Linked DNA regions of Homo sapiens: region 1 is linked to region 2. Evidence: promoter capture Hi-C in 16 types of primary human blood cells and fetal thymus (Javierre and others, 2016). All regions are on one chromosome and are shown on one strand. The core of a region is centred on a gene start or on the middle of the fragment in contact, and the rest is flanking DNA. Distances in the headings are between cores, read along the strand shown.

The links. The method cuts DNA at HindIII sites, captures the fragments that hold promoters and counts their contacts. A CHiCAGO score of 5 or more calls a contact.
Region 1: a contact is called between a fragment that was not itself captured here and the fragment with the promoter of ANXA10 in region 2, in 1 of 17 cell types (M0 macrophages). The highest score is 5.1, in M0 macrophages.

Annotation. Positions count from the first base shown.
Region 1 is chr4:166,158,885-166,166,346 of GRCh38, reverse strand. No RefSeq gene overlaps it. Among named protein-coding and RNA genes, the nearest start is that of TLL1, 290 kb to the right of the region's middle. RefSeq lists an enhancer at 216-510. The HindIII fragment of the contact is 600 bases long and covers 3,551-4,150 here.
Region 2 is chr4:168,089,220-168,096,122 of GRCh38, reverse strand. It overlaps ANXA10 (annexin A10), which reads right to left and starts at 3,586. Exons shown (of 12, transcript NM_007193.5): 1 at 3,405-3,586. The coding sequence starts at 3,422. It overlaps LOC124900170 (a long non-coding RNA gene), which reads right to left and starts at 3,386. Exons shown (of 2, transcript XR_007058357.1): 1 at 1-3,386. The HindIII fragment of the contact is 6,758 bases long and covers 3,380-6,903 here.

The DNA of each region.
Region 1 (7,462 bases), core at 2,601-5,100, 1.9 Mb after region 2:
TATATCCAAAAGTGATTAGTGGCAGCTGCATTTTATAAAACCATTATTATTAAAAAGGCCTTGACAAATATAATTTTTTTTCTATTATTTTGATTCTACCTTTAATTTTTTCATAAAAATACTGCTCTTTGCAGAAGAGAAATGATAATGTTTCCTTAAAACAACGTGAACCATATCATAGAAAGCCAGAGAGTATATGGTTCCGACTATTTCAGTAAAAGACTCTGAGCTGAACAATTTTCTGTGTGTACAACGTTGCTGAAAGACCGAGCAGGCTATGACATCATTCACTAAGGGCATTGGTTTGGAAGAAAAAGAGCAATACTGACATCTAGCGTTCATGAGTTATAAGACAGGGAGGGTGTTTTACTTTAAAAACATGCATTCTAACGAAGAGCATGTATCACATTGAGGGAATAGGCAGAGACCCCCTTGTAGACAAGTAAAATAATCAGCGCCAATTCATGACACAACCTCTGAATCATCTAACAAAGTGTTTATATTCTTGAAAAACACAAGAGTTTGAAACAACTGTTTACTGCTGACAAAAAAGCAACTAGATGTCCATAGTCAGTTTATGTGGGCTCAGACTTTTGCACCCACCAAGTGAAGACAACTAGTACTGGGACAATAGAAAGAGAAGCTAAGAACATGGTAGAGATTGTGACATAAGCATTCATTTTAAATCCCTGGAGTGGTAGGCATCCGTGAGATGCCAACTGCTGAAGCTACTGAAGTTAAAATAGTACAACATGTGTTCTCATTGTTCGACTCCCACTTATGAGTGAGAACATGTGGCGTTTGGTTTTCTGTTCCTGTGTTAGTTTGCTGAGAATGATGGCTTCCAGATTCATGCAGGTACCTGCAAAGGACATGAACTCATTCTTTTTTATGTCTGCATAGTATTCCATGGTGTACATGTGCCACATTTTCTTATCCAGTCTATCGTCGATGGGCATTTGGGTTGGTTCCATGTCTTTGCTATTGTGAATAGCGCTGCAGTAAACATACAGAACACATGGACGCAGGGAGGGGAACATCACACACTTGGGCCTGTCGGGTGTTGGGGGCAAGGGGAGAGAGAGCATTAGGACAAATACCTAATACCTATAGGGCTAAAAACCTAGATGACAGGTTGATAGGCGCAGCAAACCACCATGGCACATGTATACCTATGTAACAAGCCTGCGTGTTCTGCACATGTATCCCAAACCTAAAGTAAAATAAAAAAAATAGTACAACAGCCCACAAATGCCAACTCTGAGGACTCATCTACTCACTTCAGCTAGCTGCAAACTCTATTCCCTCAAAGGATCAAATAATTCCACTGCCTTAAAAATAATACTTGCTATGGAAAAGACCTTAAGTGGAAATTTACCCTGCCTTCTAGGCATTATTCCACAGCAGCGCTTTCCTGCATACTCCAGAACTCTTCAATAGGCATTTGAATAACTTCGTCTGCTGTCACTATTCAGGAAAGGCATCAGAAAGAAGCTACTGGCCAGGTTATCGTTTAAATGAGGCCATGAGGAAGCATAGTCTGGATATACAGGGATTTCCATTTCACCCATTTTAAATTTTCCTAGAGACATCTACAGAAAATTAGTATGATTCAAGAACAACGTGTCTACATTTATTTTCTCTGGCTCTGGTTTTATTGAGGTATATACCTGCACTGGATATCATTAAGTGTGCCAGAGGGAAACTCGAGAACCAGAACTCTCCTTTCCTGCCCCCAAAACAGTCCTAAATCCCCATGTTTAGCTCTACTACCTTGGAAAGTTATACAGTCAAGTTTCCACCCTAACTGAGGCAGCTAGAAACAAAATGACAAATGAGAACTATGTACTGAAATCAAATACATACATGAAGTTGCTCTGTAGTAGGGAAAGTTGTATATGTTTTCTTAATCATTGTATTTTATTTACTTCTTCATAATGAACACAGGTAATTCTCAGATCTCACAGACGTTTCTCTTTTTTGAGTTTAGATGTGTCTTCCATGGTTACAATCTGATAATTAAACAGAATAACTATTATATTCTGAATCAGATTACATTTGGAAGGTGATCACCAATTGCTCACAAAAGTTCTATTAAAGAATTCCTCCTGTTTGGCGAGGCACAGAGGGCTCTGAATCAAAAGAACCACCTAACGATAGTCCTTGATGTATAGTGTGTCTCTACAAATATTACCTAATACATTTGCTCCATTTTTTAAAAACAAATATCTGGCACAAATATTGTTGTGAACAGATGCTAATAGTCATTATTTCAGAGACCTTCCCTTGTTATTAAAATATAAACAAACACAATGATGATGTGTTTTTAAGGGAAAGGGACACAAAAATAGGAAACTTTCAAGGGAAGTGAGTAAAAATCATAATTATGACCCTGACAATAGAAGAACAAGATGCTGCTGCTCTACCAATGAAGCCTTGGAAGAAGGTATTTATTGTCTTAATCAAAGACGGAGGTCTATCTAACTTATTCTTTCATAGAATAATGTAATGTAGTGAGGGACAGTATATAAGCACCTGGAACAATCAGCTAAAGATATAAGCAGCCTACTAGGCAAGAGACAGCTTGGGCAGGTCATCCTATACAGCACATTATCTTTTTCTTTTCTCTCTCTCTCTCTTTTATTTTTTTTTGACTTTTACAGGTTCTGTGTTGCCCAGGCTGGTCTTAAACTCCTGGCCTCAAGCAATCCTCCCACCTCAGCCTCGCAAAGTGTTGGGATTACAGCCATGAGCCACTGCACCCAGCCCCTAGCCCACATTTTAGGAGCAAGAAGATGTTGAGAAAATTTCAAAGATAGGGAAATCTCTCTCTCTCTCTCTCTCTTTCTCTCTCTCTCTCACACACACATACACACACATACACACACAAACACACTCCAAGTATAGAGTGCATTTGGCATTTGCAACCACCCCTTTGCAAATGTGTGTTAAGTAAGTTTAAAGTGGGGATGTAGGGAAGTAAATTCTTAAAAGTATGCAAATTGCAAAGGGCATAAAATCTTGAGATTAAAAATACCCAAAATGTTAAAATTAAGGTGAAATATGTTTTTAGGACTCAAGAGAAACATAACTTTAAAAACCTGCACTGAATTTACATTTATGTGCAATTCACAAGCAAACTCAGAGATGTTTTTAAAATGGAGCTTAAGGCAAGAAAAAGACATAGATTGAATTGTGTGTTCTTAAGTACAAAGTGCAAGTTTTCTCTGTAAAAATCCACTGAAACGTCTTTGCCTACCTCATTAAAATGAAACTAACCACAAAACACAAAATGAAGTATAATGGCTAAATCCTATATGCCAAAGTTTCTGTTTTGAAATTTGTGCTATCTGAGTACCTGAGAGCTGACAGAATTAAATAAGAAATTAATGAAGAGCTCAGGCTGAGTCTCCTTATTTATGCTGAACAATGTCTGGTACCTTTTCTGACAAAATTAACTACTTAATAGTATTTGATGACAAATACAAAGAAAATGGGCAATTCTATCTCTAAAGTAATAAATTCAGCAATAAACTTTTTTAAAAAAGCTTAAAGCCTTAAGAAATGAAATTTTATGTTCAAATAATAATGGAAATTGCCTATCGTAATTTTTATGCCTGGAAGTAAGAACAGCTCCACATTTCGTTTTCAATTTTAAATCAGACACCTACCTATTTTTATAACCTCCAGGAATACAAGGTTTTGAAAGAATGATAATATGTTAAGTAACAGCACTCTTACTCTGAGAGCAGCTAAAGGAGCAAGATGTAGATTTCCATGAGGATAGATAGCTTGTCAAGCAAATCCAAATGGTGTGTGAAATATTGCCAGTGATGAATGACATTTAGTGACAAGATCAAAGTTCAGTGCAAGTCATCGATGTCTCTGATAGAGGCCATTTAGTTCACTCAACCCAGGTGTTCGTTAAGTAGATAGGACTTGCAGTTTTCAAAGTCTTTGTTTATAGTACATTCAGATAATTATTTGTGCACATTAGTTAGCATTGATTTTACGTATTTTACTTTCATGTAGTAAATCTGATGGAAGAAAAATCTAAAACAGTGATAGTATACTTAGTATATTCTCATGTGTGAATAATAACTAAGCATTTATTGAATTTTTGCTATGGGATATCATTTTTCCACAAGCTTTGTTCACATAATTTAATTTAATTCTCGCAACAAGCCTAGGAGCTAGTTTTATTAACATTATTTTTATTTTCCTGAGGGCACACTGAAGTACTGAAGATTCAAACAAAATGTTCAAGGTTGTGCAACTAACAAGCCCAGAGGTGGGATTTGAGCATAATCCAGGAGAGCCAGAGCTTGTAACACCTTTGTCACATTGTTCCTTACTTGGAAACAATTTTGTGTAAGCCTAGTGTCCAGTCACTTACTATAAATTGTAAATCATATCAGTGAAACAGAAAAAGGGCAGTGTGTCTGTTTTTTATTCTAGATTTCAAAGAGAGTTGAAGTATAAACTTGGAAAAAAAAAAGTAAGGAAATTTCTTTGGCTTTTATATCGAAAAATTACTGTAAGGAAAAGCTAAATTACTTACATATCTAAGTATATTGTATAACTCTTGTTTCACATCCAACACTTCTACTTGCTAGCCATGGAAAAAGACGGGGCTGGATTTTAATACTGGATCTCAGCAGTAATTATATTGATTTAGTTAATTATACTTCAGTTTTTCATTTATAAAATGGGGATAATAAAACCTACCATGAGGTATTGTTACAGATCTATGCTATAAATGAAAAACACGAAGTATGCTGTGCAGCACATACTACATACCCAACAAATAGTAGTTCTTAATTATGGTGCTGCTGACTTGGTACTCATGGCACTAACAATTTTTTTGAGAACAGTAATATATAATTCTATAATTAGTTCAATCAAAACAGAAATACGCAGTAGAAGAATGAACAGAGTAGACAAAATTAGAAAGTGATAATATTTCAGCCCCTTGAATAAATTAGCATATTCATACAAATGTCATATTTTATACTTATTTGGGTAAAATTAATATAGATGTATATATTTATTAGGTACTTCATCTCACTCTTATTTTGTTCTTTAGTTTTTTTCTTCATTTTACCCTACCATCTTTTATCCCCAAAATTAAATAGAAAAATAGAATCTATATACTTTTAAGACAGTAATATTTGGGGCAATATTTCGACATAATATTTCCTTTGTACATAGACATTTATGTTTTTCAGGATATAATGTATATAATATAGCACTGTAAGTGATTAAGATCCTCAGGCCGTTTTGTTTGATCTTTTATCAAAAAATGAAAAAGAAATCACATGTATAGCAACGTTTTTCATAATCACCAAGAACTAGAAATCATCATTCACCAACAGATGAATGGATAAAAGATGGAAGACTGCTTAGCAATAGAAAGCAATGAACTATTAATAAATGCAACAATATGTAGTCTATCAATCTCAAAGGCATTATGCTGAGTGAAAGAAGCTATGCTCAAAAAGCTACTGTGTGATTTCATTCCTTCTGCAAAAGGCAAAACCATATGGGTGCAAAACAAATCAATGTTTGCCAGATGTTGAACAGAGGAGGAGATCAACTGCAAAGGGACGTGATGAAACTTTTGGGGGGAATGGAACAATATGTTGTTGTGGTTTCCAAGGCTAGCACAAAAATGAAAACATGGAACTCCTTGTTCATACAGCAGAAAAAAATATACGATTAAAGTATTAGGTTGGTGCAAAAGTAATTGCGGTTTTTGTCATTAGGAATAATTAGGGAAAAAATTAGGAAGATGAAATAGATGCATCTTTATAAAGATTCCTAAGTTGTCTCTTTTTTTGGGGATGATCTTAATAATCTTTGATAGCTACCTTATTGTTTGCTATACTAAGTTGTTCCAGTTTCATCTTGTCCATTTCCCGCCTAGGTCTCCAACTCAAATCAGCTATTTCTCCAAGAATTCTTGGTGTCTTTTAACAATAAATAGAATTTAAATTTCACATTTTGCATACCAAGGATCCCATTTACACATCATTTCTAGGTCATTGGAATGGACAGAGTTAGAAAATAACTTAAGAAATCATAGTCTAATTTCCAATTTAAGTCAGCGCTATAACATGCAGAAGTAACAGTAGATATACTATTAACATTTTCTACTACTTAACATTTTCTGTATGGCATTGATAACTTCTTTTTTCACACCAGGGGTCGTTGTTTTTAAGGGCAAAGAAAATGACAGAACTAGAGCATTCCATGTAGACCAATTTGCTTTAAAATGCAATAAATGTAGAACAGCCAGAATAACAATTCTCATGCTAACAAGATTCATTTAGATTAATAAAAATGATTATTTTTGCCCATGCCATCCTTTTTAGCATTTATTCTGTATCCCCATTGTTACATATATTGTTATTATGTCCCATAATCTGTCCCTTTCTCCCTCATTCATTCTTAATTTTGTAAGTAACTACATAGTCAAGCAATGCTAACCACCAGTCGTTTTTTGATGACTCTATTGTCATTATGGTTGTGTGAAGCTCATTTTTTAGTAGATTCCTTTAAAAAATCCCATTAAAATATATTGAGTTACTGCATGTTAAGAGTTACTGCATGTCAATAACACTTTCTTTTTTAGATGAGAGTCAGTTTTGCTGGATATAAAATTGTTTGCTTCCAATTTTTTTCCTTGAGACTCTTAAATATATTACTCCATTTTTTTCTATCATAAAATATTACTGTTGAACAGTCTGATGCTAAATTGCATTTTCCTTATAAATTACATATTCTTTTTACTCAGATACCTTAAGAATCTTTTGGCTTTTTCTTTAAAGTCCAGTAATTTTACTAGATTAAGTGCTGGTATTAGTCTTCCCATTTGCTCTTCTAATATGTTTTGTTAAATCTTTTCCTTTATTTTAGGACGAATTTTGTTTATTATATAATGAACATTTATCGTATTTTGTTGTTCTTATTGTTCTCTTACTTTGGTTTTCTTCCTTAAATATTGACTTTCTCTGTATCTTGAACCTTCTTCAGCTATTTTCAATATTTGCCACTTCTTCTGAAATCCTTTTTAGCATTTTCTTTGAAGTTCTCCTTTTTATCTACTTAAAGACTTTTTTTGCTCTTTTATCTCTTTTATTGAAGTCTTAATTTTTAAAATATTTTTTCTCTTGTTTCTAATTCTTTCGTAGATTTTACCATTTCATTTCAGAGATTTTGCAATTCTGATTTGTGATGTTCTTTCATAATTTATATCATTTTAAATATCTCAGCTTTTCTGAATTGTTTTGAGAGATTGTCTTTTTGAAGGTTGTACTTTGTGTAAGAAGGTGATTCTTCTCTTTAATATTTTTAATATATTAACATTAATTGGATTTTGTTCTTTTTAAAATATTTCCTGTTGTTGATTTTTATGCAAATTTCTCTTTCTGAATTTTAGAGTGAAGTTTAAGGCAGCTTT
Region 2 (6,903 bases), core at 2,337-4,836:
AGGTAATATGCCCTGAATTCATTTCTGATTTATGGAGTGCTTTTCCTTCACTACATGTAATCCACTGCTAAAAACCAATGCATTTATTTTTATTCTAGTTAGGCTAAAATGCTGTATGTCTCATTGCCCATAGTAGACACTGCCTAACATGCTGTTGCCTGACTTTCGTGCTCTTGAGCTATTCTGAGGCAAACTCATGAGTCAAAGCATCTTTGTAAAGATACCGCTGCTAAGTTTTTCTCATTTAATTGGGGTCACAAAAAATAATCATACCTAGGCATTTTTTTCTCTCAGTGTGGTAGAAATGATTTTGGAGTTACACAGAATCCTCTGTATCTGTCACCTACTGGCTTTTAACTCCTGGGAAAAGTATTTAATTTTTCTGAACCTTAGTATTTTCATCTGGAAAAAGGGGATGATAATACTGTCCTAGAAGTTTGCAAACACAAAAATAATATGTATAAAACATTTGGGTAGAATATCTAGTACCTCCAAAAGAACTTCAAACCTTTGCATGTTAAATGGTATTCTTATAGGACAATTTGCTGTGAAGATTAAATTAAACAAGGTATGGATGATGTATATAGACAGTAAATTATTATAATAATTTCTATATGTTTGTATAATACATAATGCTATTTTAGGTAAGAAATATGATATCAACATGTATCCTACTTTTCATACTGCTATGATTAACATTTTCTGTCAGTCAATAAATATTATAGAAGTAGGAAAAGGTGTCAAAAGGGTAGAAAAGGGAATAGGATTAAAGTTAACTCTAATCCTATTAGAGGTCAAAAGGAAGGGTATCATCTAAGAAATGAATCTATAGTAAATAAGATGCTACTGTATGAACAAGGGGGATCAGCTGATGACAAAACAGGACAAAATCAGCGAACAATTTTTACAAGAAAATTGTATTCTAAAGAGGCAGGTGTATTCTAAAGAGACATTATATATTAATAAAAAGAATTTGAGCTCTAGGGATGTAGAGATACCTGGGTTTAGATCCTGACTTGGGCAAGTACACTGTATAGTAAAATTTCCTCCATTCTAAGAGAGCTATTATAATATTATAATAATATCTTCCTATGATGTGATTTATATCTGACTAATATATCAAAACTCAGGCTTGCAATAATCTCTTAATTAAACCTTGCTTTTGAAAGATGGTCTTACAGTCAAGCACATAAGTAAAATACACTAGTGCACCAAAGATAAATTTCCTTCTTAATGTAACAAGCACACTTAAACTACCTTAATCACTGGGGCCCGCCTAACTCCAGAAATATAGAAAATAATTTTAACATATTATGTATGTTTATCTCCTACAGAAATGTAACCATTTTTCCATGATTCTTGTCTCTTGCTTGAAGTATATTTAAATTTTCTATACTTTGAGAGTAATGAACTACCTATCTCTGTGGTTCTCAAAAATGGTAACCCTTTTATATCAAGTGTATAAGTTCAGATGTTATATATACTGCATCAGGACTGCTAAATAAGGAGGATCTAGGGACATATCTTTAACAAACAACTCAGTCAATTACTACCCACATTATAAAATAAGAAATTACTTGTCAACAGAAGAGCCAGTCTCTTGCTTGAGAACATCCGATTAAAGAGATAAGCTTGGCCTCAAATATTGGCCTTTTTAGCACTAAATTCTGACCACTGGGGTCATATACCTTAAGATAGAAAATTACTTTAAACTATACTGATATTGATTATGTAAAACCATTTTACCATCCAGGCTTGCTGAGATTATACATAAAACATAACATTCATCTCTAAAATAGCTAATCAAAAGTACTTAAAATGGATTCTTAGGTATGCTCAAATCCAAATCTTTAATCTTCAGTTTTCTTTATTTGCTTCAGAAGCATAGCAAATAATTGCATTTAAAAAAAATCTTGTTAGCCTGGTAATGTTTAATAATCCCAGAAATATAATTTAAATATTCTATAAAATATGTTTCTTTTGAAAAATGGGCATATAAATAGTAACATTAGACCACACAATGCATAGAATATAATAGTAATTACTCCCAAATAACTATACTCAAATGAACAGAGAGAGAAAACAATAGGCATTTGCAAATTTAATCATTTACCATGCTGGCCTAATTACTTGATACCTTTTTTTCTCTGTAGTGAAATATAACCACCTTACAATTAATAAAACAATAATGGTAACTTTCAACTGCAAAATGAGATCTTGAAATCTTAAGATGAAATTAAGATTGTTAAACTAACAGTGATGGAAAATAGCTGCCTTTTAAGTCCTAATTCAGTATTTATCTTAAGAAACACAATATATAAGTAAAATTTTCCTGCATTGATTACTTTGTATGAGTAAACAATGTTTTGTGTGCCAAAGTTTAACAAAATAATTATGTTATAATTTTTTTGCATAAAAGTTCCCAGAAAGTTGTTTTTTGTTTTTTGAGATGGAGTCTCGCTCTGTCGCCCAGGCTGGAGTGCAGTGGCGCGATCTCGGCTCACTGCAAGCTCCGCCTCCCGGGTTCACGCCATTCTCTTGCCTCAGTCTCCTGAAAGTTTTTTTATAGTATAGATTTGTAAAGAATCATCATTAACACACATATACTTGTATATAATTTCTAAGACCACAAGGCATAAATTCACATTTGTATATAATTTTCAAGACCATGTGAAATGGAGACCTTTTCATATAAAGCATATTCAGACAACTTAATGTTCATGTTGGCTTTTTAAAAAGTGAATGACTATTAGAGCAGTTGGACTAAAATGATTCAGACAAGGCCAAAAAAAAGACTAAATCTTGTTATACATTGCTTCTATTCAACAGAAAATTATTCAAAAATAAGCTATCTTTTACAGAAAGCATGGATTTAAAATAAAATTAATAGTCAAAATTATTTTAATTTTTTATAGATAGAAGTAAATATCGAGATAAAAAATCTTATGATAACTTCAGTTAGAATTCTGAATCAAATTACATATGAAAGTAACTTGCCTCTGTGGGATAATACGTTGTTTCAAAATTAGCATGGATTTAAGATTTCATAATATTAACTCTGTTTAATAGTTATATTGAAGACCCACTAATTAAATGGATTCTTAGGTATGCTCAAATCCAAATCTTTAATCTTCAGTTTTCTTTATTTGCTTCAGAAGCATAGCAAATAATTGCATTAAAAAAATCTTGTTATCATAGTAATGTTTAATAATCCCAGAAATAAAATTTAAATATTCTATAAATGTTTCTTTCAAAAAATGGGCATAAAATAGTAAGAAAGTAGTAAGAATAAAAACAAATTAGAACAACATTTTCTGTTAAAAACGTCAAAAAACACAAATGAAATTTTATAAATCAAGTTTCAAAAGAGTGAAAAGCTTTACAGAAATAAGCATTATACTCACATAGTCTCCACAAAACATTTTGATGGTAATTGTTAACCTCAGGGATGAAAATATTTGATCGATTGCATAAACTTGTTTCACTGTGAAGCCAGAAAGAATTAAGGTTCACTGTTAAATCAAATGTAAATATGTTCACTGTTCACCTCAGACTCAGGCAAGAAAATGTAAAAGCAAATCTGGATACAGCATGACTTGAGATACTGTATTTATACTTAGTTATCAGTCATAGGTGAGTAGGCAGAATTATTGCACAAAATAAGTAGAACCATTAACCTAATCCCCAGTTGTATGTTGATTTAAGACACATAAAGTAGCCAACTAATGAAAGAAATGTAATCTTTTGAAAAAGCTGATGACTTATGGAAAGCTAAGTTGATTACCCATAAAGTTAATCATTTATTTTCTGCTTAATTGTTGTTAACATGGAAACTCTTTCAGGTGCTCCAGCCCTAGTTTCCTATCTTAAATTGCTAGGTTCTATGTGTATCCATACAATTTTAAAAGAATATTTCAACTACTGTTTATCTGCTCTTATATTAAAAAATAATGTATTTAGGGGCTGGGCCTGGTGGCTCATGCCTCTAATCCCAGCACTTTGGGAGGCTAAGGCAGGCAGATCACTTGAGGTCAGGAATTCGAGACCAGGCTGCCCAACATGGCGAAACCCCGTCTCTACTAAAAATACACAAATTAAAAAAAAATTATTTTAAATATATTTAGAAAAGAATTCATTATCCACCAATAAAAGTCTTTGGAGAAATATATTCACCATCATTTTTGCACTTAATTTTCCTATATTTATATATATGTAATTTTAATATTAACTATTGCATTTTAAGGAAATAAATTTTAGAAAAACCTGTAAAGTTCAATATAGTGTTGGAAACTATCTAGATACATTCATATATGATTCCAAAAATAACAAAATGAATCTGTATTATATTATTTTACTGCTACTTGCTATTTATTGAACAATATAGTGTTCATTTATAAAAATTTTAAAATACTTTGAATAAGAATTAGGAGCAAATAATCCTTTATTGAAAGAACCAAATACTAACAAGACAAGTGTCAACTGATCAGCATCCATAGGTCTAGAACTACCCAAAATAATTCTGATGTTAAAATATGAGTAAAAGCCATGAAGCAGTATGTATTTATGTAATACACACACACACACACACACAAACACAAATATATATATATATAATGAGCAACTATATATATATATTCTTCAGCATTCAATTTATAATATTATCTGATTACCTTACCAGTATACCTGGTACTATGAGAGATATATGGAACCATGCTGCTTGGCTCAAAAACATTAAAATCTAGTAGGTCCTACTATGTATGTGTATGTGTCTGTGTATGAATCAGGGTCTTGTGTTTTTGCTATGTAGACAGCATATAGCAATTATAAAATTGTATAATTTATATTGTATAATTGCTATAATTGTATAATTTATATTGTATAATTGCTATATGTAGACAGCATATAGCAATTATAAAATAATAGATATACTTATTAAAACTATAGGATTCAGAATTAGAAACAAAAGAAGAATTTTCAACTAAAATTGTTTTTTAATTAGAAACAATAGAAGAGTTTTCAACTACAATGATTTTTTATGATTATTTTAGTAAGTTGCAGGTCTTATGGCTTTTATTAGAGACTAAATATGTGAATATGAACAAAATTTGTCAAAATATTTGAGACCAAAATCCTTTCCCTAAGATTATTAGATAATTCAGAGAAAAGAGATTTGATAATATTCCCTAATTTTCTCCCAGATAATAGGTACTTAATGTATAATTTTATTCATCATTATTTTGTGATTTAGCTTTTAAAAAACATGTCCTTAAGGGAAATTATGATATCTGGTATTTGGCTTATAATATTCCATAGAAAAGAGGGTCATGAGACACCTTTTGATACCAGTGTGGCAAAATCTTGAAAACTATTGGGAAAGATGGTAGTTAATTATTTAATATAATTCTATTTTATGTTTATGAAAATTTCCCTGATGAAAATTTTAAAATGTTTGGTTGTAACTTATTTACTCATACTTAAATATCATTTGATTATCTACAACCTGTACAGTAATAAATGTTATCAATAATAAGGATTTTCCTCTATTCTAAACATTGTTTCAAGTCAATATACTTGTATAAATTAATTCTTACAACAACTCTATGAGCTTGGTACTGTTATTGCCCATATTTTATCCACAGCATAGATAGATAGTAGAGAGGAAATGGAATTACTCTGTAGTCAAGAATGTTGCCTAAAATCTCACTCTTGAAGTAGGAGAGTGAAATTTGAACCTAGGCAGTCCAATGACAGAACCTGTAACCTCAATCTCAATGTTACATAGATACTCAAGGAATGAAACAAAGCAACTTAAGAAGAAAATGAAAAGGCATGTTTCTTGATTCAAAGGGATTTACAGTTTAGTAGGTTTTAAAAATTAACAGAATACAAGATGATAAATGGTAAGAGCCATAAGCAAGTTGCAAAAAATATTTTGAACAATTCCTCAAGAGGCAAGTTACTTAGGGAGCAAGTAAATGAAGAATGCTTCACAGATGAATTAGCGTTTGAAATGTGACTTACCACAATGTCCTCTAGTTTCATCCATATTGTTGCACATGGCAGAATTTCCTTCTTTTTAAAGCATGTATATTATTCTATTTTATGTATACTACATTTTCTGTATCCATTTATCCATTGATGGATACTTAGGTTGTTGCCATATCTTTGCTTTTGTAGACAATGCCAGAATGAACATGGGAGTGCAGACATTTCCTTGATATACTGATCTCAATCTTTACGGATATATATCCAGAAGTGAGATTGTGGATCATATGGTAATTCCATGTTTTGTTTTTTGAGGAATCTCCATACTGTTTTTAAAAATGGCTATACTAATTTACATTCCCATGAACAGAACACCAGGTATCCTTTTTCTGCACAACCTCACCAACACTTATCTTTTGTCTTCTTGATAATTGCCATTCTAACATGTGGGAGGTGATATCTCATTGCAGCTTTAATTTTCATATCCCTCATGATTAAAGATGCCGAACATTTTTAAACATATCCTTTGTCTAATAGCATGTTTTATTTTGAGGACTCTCTCTTTGGGTCCTTGGCCCATTTTTAAATCAGGTTGCTTGTTTTCTTGTTATTGAGTTGTTTGAGTCTCTTAGATATTTTTCATATTAGCACCTTAACAGATGTGTGGTTTGCAAATATTTTCTCCCGGTACACGGATTGTTTTGTAACTCTTGATTGTTTTCTTTGCTGTGCAGAAGCATTTTGGTTTGATGCCATCCTATTTGTCTAATTTTGATTTTCTTTTCCATGCTTTTGGGGTCCTATCCAAGAAATAATTGCTGAAGTCAATGACATGGACTTCCCCCTATGTTTTCTTCTAGCAGTTTTAAACAGTTTCAGGTCTTACGTTAAGTCTTTAATCCATTTTCAGTTAATTTT